3 separate regions of the Homo sapiens genome follow, and all the other regions are linked to region 3. Evidence: promoter capture Hi-C in 16 types of primary human blood cells and fetal thymus (Javierre and others, 2016). All regions are on one chromosome and are shown on one strand. Each heading gives the region's core, a stretch centred on a gene start or on the middle of the fragment in contact. The rest is flanking DNA. Distances are from core to core; before and after follow the strand shown. Region 1 holds the start of WFDC8 (WAP four-disulfide core domain 8). Region 2 has its middle 18 kb from the start of WFDC8. Region 3 holds the start of WFDC3 (WAP four-disulfide core domain 3).

Region 1 (2,730 bases), core at 51-2,550, 210 kb before region 3:
GGGACAGAGAGAGATTCCCTCTCAAACAAAACAAAAAAAATAAAAATAAAAATAAATAAATAAATAAAGTATGTAGAGTTTTATTTAATAATTAACCACACAGATTAAAAAATAGAAAGTAGCCAGCTTCCCAGAAGTCTTCTGTGTGCACCTTCTAATTACCATCTCTGTCATGTGTCTTCAGACAGAAGCACATATAAAAACAAGGTTATGTATTGATCAAATGATGAAAATGTGTGGTCAGAGGCTTGCATTTTCCCTAGGAGCAATGGCTCAGTATTTGCTAATCCGGTGTTCACAGTGACTTTACAGAACATAACTACCCCCAAGTAATGGGAATCAACTGTATTTTTATTACTTTGGTGTACAAAGAACTTTGAGCTCTCCATGGCTTGCCACAACAAAAGACTTCCTAGGCAAATTGTCTACTGCTTTGTTCCAAGTGGGGGCTCTACTTGAGGCTGTGGGACCAAGACAAAAGAAGCAGCCTCTATGTGGATTAGGCCCCTTCTCCTGGCAGAGAGAAAGCACAAAGGAGCTGGCAGAAACTCACAGTGCAAAACTCACTATGCATATGCTACATCTGCTCATACTCCAATAGGCAAAGCACAGCTGACAGCAAACCCAAAGTCAATGAGACAGAAATGTGTCTTCCTTCCACGGGCCGTTCTAAAATTGCAAGGTAATGGACAGGAGTGTCCTCTTAAAGGAAAGATGGAATGAATAGTTGTGAATAATAATATAACCCATCACTACTACTCCTGTTTTAATTTTTTGAAAATGTTTAGATACATATTATATGCTTGTTTAATTTAAAATATCAAACTTTACCTTGCTCAGGCTCTGCCCCTCCACACTGGGCCACTCAAAGATGCCCAACTTACCCTACTTGGGCTCCAACAGCCATATCAGGTTGCATTCGAGACCAGCCTGGCCAACATGGTGAAACCCCGTCTCTACTAAAAATGCAAAACTTAGCCGAGCGTGGTGGCGCACACCTGTAGTCCCAGCTACTAGGGAGGCTAAGGCAGGAGAATCGCTGGATGCATTGATGCCCTCTTCACCCTGCTTAGGCTCTGATTCCTGACACAAGACAGCTCTGTTCTGTGGAACCCCTCCTCACTATGCTTGGCCCAACTCCCCACAGCCGACCACTCTAACTTCTATGTATCCTCCTCATCTCCTTGGGCTCAGACCCTCCATGTCTGGCTACCCACCCCCATAGACACCCTCCTCACCCTCCTTCAGTTCGGACAGTCCACATCAGGCCTCTTCCCTATGGAGACAGCTTCCTCACTTTGCTCCAGCTCTAAGGCTCCTCCCTCATCTGCTCCCCTGCCTGGACACTCTGCTCACCCCACTCAGGCTCTCATTCTATGCCAGTCTGCCCCTCTAGCCCCAGGGGGATGCCTTTCTCAACATGGGCAGGCTGGTCTCCATGCTATGCTGCTTCTTGCCTCTTCACTGGGCATTCTCATCTACCCCTGGCTCCAGCACACCAGGCCAGCAGCCCTCCTACAGAGACACCCTCCTTGACCTGTTCCAGCTCTGATGCCCACACGGAGCCAGCCGTGGCTCCCTTCCCCTTGGGGCAAACGCCTACCTTGCTAAATGTGCCTATCTAATGGCTTTAGGACTGACTAGTTCAGTTAGTAAAGAAAAGGAGACAAAACAAGGAAGAGCTACTTTTCCTTTTTGTAAAAATATGTATTGTGAAAAACACCACAAAAATAAAAATATGCATGAAACATTAATGTTCAGTCTAACGAACTATTACGAAGTGACCACTCATTAAACTATCACTGAAATCAAGTAAAAAATTTCCAACACTTTCTGCTCCTTTTTCATTCTTTTCCAGTCACAACCCCTTCCTATGCTCTCAAAGGCAGCTAATGGTAGTGACTTTCTTTTTCATATTTTCAAGATCATATGTATTCCCCTAAATATGTTTTTGTTTTTGTCTGCTTCTGTTCTATATCAATGGAGTCACTTGGAATGTATTCTTTTGTGCCTGGCTTTTTGTGTTCAACATTATATTAATGAATTCCATCCACATTGTTTTGTGTAGCTGTATTTTGTCAATTTTCATTGCCATGCCATCTATTGTATGACTACACACATCTCTACTGAGTTGTTTATAGTTTGCAGCTGTTAAGAATAAAGCTGCTGTGTGTATACATAGCATGTATGTAATAACGTTCTGCACGTGTATCCCAGAACTTAAAGTATAATAAAAAACTAGGATTTTCTAAATAAAAATGTTATTTATATCAACATGTAATAAGTTTATTACGTTAAATGAATTAATAAATGTTTTTAAATGTCAAAAAAATTTTAAACAATTTACTCATGTAAAAAAAAGAATAAAGCTGCTATGAACACTCTGTGTGCATTTGCTGGAGCACGTGGGCAGGTGTTCTTGTAGGTTATACATTCAGCATAGGGAATGATGGGTTACAGGGTATGCATATCTTCAGCTTCTCAAGCTGATACCAAATTATTTCCCAAAGAGTTTGTACCAATTCACAGCCTTGCCATTGGTAGTTGAGAGTTCCTATTGTTCCATAACCATGCTGTATGTAGAACTGTCACAATCTTTTCATTTTTACCATCCTGCTACGAGTATGGAAATACATCACTGTGGACTTAATTTAAATTTCTTGACTACTAATGAGGTTGAGCACCTTTTTAGATCTTTATTAACCACTTGGCTATCCTCTCTTTGATTTT
Region 2 (2,701 bases), core at 126-2,625, 190 kb before region 3:
GCCTCTGCACTTAGCACAAAGGAGGAGTGTCTGGAGCAGACTGACAAGGAACAAAATAGTTCCAGGAGACAGGTGCCATGCTGCTGCTTATTTGGGTTGAAACACACCAGCCTAGATTAGTGTTTCTTTGAACAACTATTAATAATATTTGTTGCTTGGAACAATAGTTGTTAGTTGTAACTAATAAATCTATTGCTTACCCCTGCTATACCCATGGGATACACCCCACCCCACCTTCATCTATCCATTACAAAAAAACTCCTGTGTTCCCACAGAAGTCAAAACAGATATTTCCCCCCCTGGGGAATGCTCCTGATAAAATCCACAGTACTGCAGATGGAGGGCTCCTAGACTTAAAAAGACTCTTCAGGGCACTATGTGAAAATAGAAGAGATCCTCTGACTTGAGACAGAGCAAGAACCTATGGGGAAATTCTAGACTCCAGAAAAGAATCCAGACCTTTTATATCCATTATAAGAGGGAGCAAAAGGAAAAAAGAAAGTACAGAAATTCCAAATTGAACACCAAGTTCACAGTCCAGTGTGATGTCAGAACTGGGGACCAGGCAGAGCACATGATGTCAAAGTAGGAAAACAGGATTTCATTCCTTCTCTTCTTCCCTCTCTGTCAGGGTCCAGAGAGAGCCTGGGCTGGGTCTATTTTCTCCAGGATAAAAATATATATACACTCAAAAGTGTCCCAATTCCTTCTTTTTTTTTTTTTTTTTTTTTTTTTGAGACGGAGTCTCGTGCTGCCACCCAGGCTGGAGTGCAGTGTCGCAATCTCCGCTCACTGCAACTTCCGCCTCCCAGGTTCAAGTGATTGTCTTGCCTCAGCCTCCCAAGTAGCTGGGATTACAAGCATGCACTACCACGCCTGGCTACTTTTTGTATTTTAGTAAAGATGAGGTTTCACCATATTGGTCAGGCTGGTCTCGAACTCCTGGCCTCAGGTGGTCTGCCCGCCTCAGCCTCCTACAGTGCTGGGATTACAGATGTGAGCCACCGTGTCCAGCCCCAATCCTTTCCTGTTTCTCAAGGCCATGTTTACATTTAGCATGCCCCAGGGACCCTACTCTGAACCTCTCACCATCAACTTCCTCTCTACCCTCTCCCCTTAACTCATAGGTACTGACTGTGAGTCCCCTTATGCTTTGTTATCATGCTCTACTCTGGACTCTACTTGTCTATATTATAAAACTTATAATGCTGAAAGGCATGTAGCTACCTTATCCATCTGTGCATGAATACCTAGTCCCTTTTCCTATAGAGAGGTATCAACCCAGGCACACAGTAGCAATTTTATAACCTCCTGTTGATTACTTAATGGAAGTTATTAAATTTTAAAATGAGCCTATTACAGGTTATGTGGATCCTGAAAGAGTAAATGACCACTAGTGGAAATGAAATCAACTAGGCAAAAAGGACAAATCTAATACTTCTTAAACCGAGGAATAGGTAATAGTACCTTTGAGTACTGCTACTTTGAAGGCTATCCTTCCATGAAGGAAATTAAGGACAACTAGAGGAAACAGAGGAATGGTCTTAAGAAAGGAAAAAAGAGGGTAAGGATAAATGGAGAAGCAAGTTGAGGGCACCTGTGGATCAGTTATGGGGATATGCCCATATACGGGTGGTTGCTTCCTACAGATATTGGGTACATGTAGAAGGGAGAGGTCTTTGGGGACCTGGTCGAGAAAAAGTGGCTATGTGATGAGTGGCAGGGATGGGAAGTCAGTGAAGAAGTCAAAGCTCTTGGACAGAAAGAAGAGTCAGGTACGTGGCTTTAATGAGGGAAGCTAAGGGTGCTGGAGATGGAGTAGTAGAAGCAGAAATCCTAGGTCTGCTTGATTGGAATATCAAGGCTGGGATATTCTCTCCCATGGAAGTGGGTCCAGGTGAAGCAAGGAGGTAACCCTGTCTCCCTCTCTTCCTTTCCCATCTCCCACTGATGGATCACAAGGCCAGGTAACCTTGGCCATTTACTTGTCAGTCCAGGCACATCTCTCTCTGGTCAATGTAGAAATCCATATATGAATCCATTTGGAAGTGCCTGAATAATAATCCACCTGTTGGGATTGTGTCAGGGCAGGTAGGTATGTACAACAGGCTGAGGAACCTTGAGAATCTACCCTTTTCAAACTTAACAACCCTTCTAGACTCCAGAATCCATGGATTTAACTGCTTCTTAAGAAAGCGTCCTCTTTGTACTCTCCAAGTCCTGTGTTTGCTTAAACTCACTCCCTTTGCCTGATCTGCTCCTGCAGTCTCCCACAGGATCCACAATGTGCTGGCCTCTAGAGCTTCCCTATTTCCCCTTGGCCAAAATGAAATCTACTTTTATCATCCCAAACTCTAATGAAGTCATCCAGTGAAATCCATACTCATAGAACTCGAGATCCCAAAAGAGCCTGAGAGTTCCTCTAGACTCTCACCCATATCTTATCTCTCCCTGACTCTTATTCTCTCTCTACTGTCAATCACTCACTCCAGTCGTCTTCTAGAGTCCTTCTTTAACCTTCTTTCCAACCTCTTGACCTTTCCACTATTACTAGTGTCATAGCTCATAAGTATCCAGACTTCACCATCTTCTCCCTTTTCTTCAGCACAAAGTGAATGCATTAAGAAATAAGTAATTTTTTTTTCTCCCTTGGAAGTGATCAAAGCTACATACAACTGGTTCTCGAATTCTTTTTTTTTTA
Region 3 (2,838 bases), core at 230-2,729:
AGCATAATAAAATTGTGGCTCCTGTTCATCCTAGCAACCAAGAAAATACAGAATGGAACAGACCACTCAGAAACTATCAAATAGGCCAAGGCGGGCAGATCACCTGAGGTCAGGAGTTTGAGACCAGCCTGGCCAACATGGCGAAACCCTGTCTCTACTAAAAATACAAAAATCAGCTGGGCATGCTGGTGCATGCCTGTAATCCCAGCTACGTGGGAGGCTGAGGCAGGAGAATAGCTTGAACCCAGGAGGCAGAGGTTGCAGTGAGTGGAGATCATGCCACTGCACTCCAGCTTGGGTAACAGAGTGAGACTCTGTCTCAAAAAAAAAAAAAAGAGAGAAAAGAAACTATCAAAAACCTACAGAAAAGCAGTAGTTGAGTTTGTTAAGAACTAATGAAAAGCACCAAACACCTACATCTTTGTCCCTCTAACCCACACAGGCCATTCTTGGACTGTATGAAGTCTAGCTGGCAGAACCCAAGAGAAGTTGCTATGTATGACTCAAATAGTCTGCCCACATATACCTCCTTTATTTCTTTTTTCTCCATTTCTTTTTTTCTTTATCTGTCCTGGTCATGCCTTTGGTTAGCTGTGATACCTAATGGTGTCCACTGGCACTGCTTAGTCCTATGGGCAGGTACAAGGTAAAACCTCCTTAATAGGATCAAAAAGTTTGGAGCCAGGAAGTCGCCCTTATGGTTAGAAGGCTGATGTTGGCTCATGGAGATAATTAACATTTGATGATGACCTCATATGTGCCTAATATGCTTTTTTTTTTTTTTTTTTTTTTTTTTTTGAGACAGAGTCTCCCTCTGTCCCCCAGGCTGGAATGCAGTGGCGCGATCTCGGCATAATTAACATTTGATGATGACCTAACATGTGCCTAATGTGCTTTTTTTTTTTTTTTTTTTGAGACAGTCTCCCTCTGTCGCCCAGGCTGGAGTGCAGTGGCGTGATCTCGGCTCACTGCAACCTCCGCCTCCTGGGTTCAAGAGACTCTCCTGCCTCAGCCTCCCGAGTAGCTGGGATTACAGGTGCCCACCACCACGCCCGGCTAATTTTTATATTTTTAGTAGAGACGGGGTTTCGCCATGTTGGCCAGGCTGGTCTCGAACTCCTGATGGCAAGTGATCCTCCCGCCTCGGCCTCCCAAAGTGCTGGGATTACAGGCGTGAGCCACCGCCCCTGGCCGAGCATATTAAAATCTAGTTTTCAAAAACTGAACTGCAGGCGCCGCTGTACCAAACGCTTCCCTCTGCTCCCCAACCCCAGCCTACAGAAAACTGGTCCCTTCCTCCTACCCCGCAGTCATCCCCAGGCCTTGGCCCAGCGGGAAACATCCCTTGACTGAACCGCCACTGAACACCCACACTGCACAATCGAGGCGCAGCCCTCCCGAGAGGAAGCCCCAACGACCTCCACCTACAAGGCCTCTAAGTGTAACTGTCCTGGGCGAGGCGCGGCGGTTCGGTTCCCATGGTAACCCCGCAGCTCCAGCGTCGCGCTTCCGGGCGGACGAGCAGCGCGCTCCAGTGACGTCACGGCGCCACTTTCCGGCCGGTGACAGAGTCCAGCGGAGTTGTGGGGGCCGGGGGCGCCATGGGAGCCACTGGCGACGCCGAGCAGCCGCGGGGACCTAGCGGGGCCGAGAGGGGCGGCTTGGAGCTGGGGGATGCGGGCGCAGCGGGGCAGCTGGTTCTTACGGTGAGGGCGCCCCCGGTGAGGTCTGGGCTCAGGCCGGGCACGGCCTCGGGGCTCCTGGGACCCTGGCCCGCGGGCGAGAGAACGCGGAGGCTGGAGCTGCAGAGGGGGTTGGCGTTTTCGCAGCCCGACGACCTGGATTTAAATTCTGGTGCCGCCCTCCTAGCTAGGTGACGTGGGCCATCTCTGTCAACCCCCTGAGTCCCAGGATCCTCTTCTATAAAATGGAAATGATTAGTACCTGTCTCATAAAACTTGTTGTGGGATGGGAAGATAAAGGCGGGTACAACGCCCCGGACATCACCTGACACAGAGTTGACCCTCGGTAAATACTGCTTCCCTTCCTCCTGCCGTGCCAGAAGGCAGGGTCGGGACTTTTAAGGCAGGAAACTTCCTCAGTTCCTCTTTTGTGGAGGAGGCCTTACAACTATCGTCCCACCCCAAGGCGGGAGAGATGGTGACGGATCTGAGAAGCAGGGATGTCCAGGTTTAACTTCATACCCACCCTCCACCTCCACCCCACCCCAGTGTCACAGGCCGCAGTGACATTTGTTCCGTTGGTCCCCACAGAACCCTTGGAACATAATGATAAAGCACCGGCAGGTGCAGCGGAGGGGCCGCCGCTCACAGATGACAACAAGGTAAGGCTGGCCCTGCATGGGGCTTATATCCCAGCCACTGGCTTGCATGGCAGATTTGGGATCCCCAGTGCACAAGGCTATGGAGATCTACAGCCGGTAGAAAGAGCACAGGACTGAGGAAGAGGAGACTCCGATTCTGTAACTCTGTGTGATCTTGAACTAGTCAAGTCACTTCCTTCTCTGAACTCACGTACAAAATGGGGAAGGGCACAGGAGATGGGTTGTGGAATAAACAATACCTAAGATCCCTCACATTCACTGGCTCTGTGGTTGAGGGCTCTAAAGAGGTCAGTTAGCATGGAGTTTAAGAGAACAGGCTCTGGAGTCAGACAACTGTGTTCTCATCAACAGACTCTGATGAGCCCGTTTTCTCAACTATAAAGAGGGATTAATAGTATGCATGTCAGGGAAGGGAGAGAGCACAAGGTGGGCCTTTGGGATGCTGATAGTGGTGAAATGGATGTTCACTATAATTACTCATTAAAGTGTATAGA

What was found. The method cuts DNA at HindIII sites, captures the fragments that hold promoters and counts their contacts. A CHiCAGO score of 5 or more calls a contact.
Region 1: the fragment with the promoter of WFDC8 here is called in contact with the fragment with the promoter of WFDC3 in region 3 in 3 of 17 cell types (M2 macrophages, M0 macrophages and M1 macrophages); the score reaches 6.3 in M2 macrophages.
Region 2: a fragment that was not itself captured here is called in contact with the fragment with the promoter of WFDC3 in region 3 in 3 of 17 cell types (M2 macrophages, M1 macrophages and M0 macrophages); the score reaches 7.5 in M2 macrophages.

What each region holds. Positions count from the first base shown.
Region 1 is chr20:45,577,984-45,580,713 of GRCh38, forward strand. WFDC8 (WAP four-disulfide core domain 8) reads right to left here and starts at 1,301. Exons shown (of 6, transcript NM_130896.3): 1 at 1,239-1,301. The coding sequence starts at 1,264. RefSeq lists an enhancer at 116-1,051. The HindIII fragment of the contact is 6,723 bases long and covers 1-2,730 here.
Region 2 is chr20:45,596,384-45,599,084 of GRCh38, forward strand. No RefSeq gene overlaps it. Among named protein-coding and RNA genes, the nearest start is that of WFDC8, 18 kb to the left of the region's middle. The HindIII fragment of the contact is 3,481 bases long and covers 1-2,701 here.
Region 3 is chr20:45,790,404-45,793,241 of GRCh38, forward strand. WFDC3 (WAP four-disulfide core domain 3) reads right to left here and starts at 1,480. Exons shown (of 7, transcript NM_080614.2): 1 at 1,429-1,480. It overlaps DNTTIP1 (deoxynucleotidyltransferase terminal interacting protein 1), which reads left to right and starts at 1,551. Exons shown (of 13, transcript NM_052951.3): 1 at 1,551-1,706; 2 at 2,274-2,344. The coding sequence starts at 1,602. RefSeq lists silencers at 1,634-1,903, 2,114-2,253. The HindIII fragment of the contact is 10,060 bases long and covers 1-2,838 here.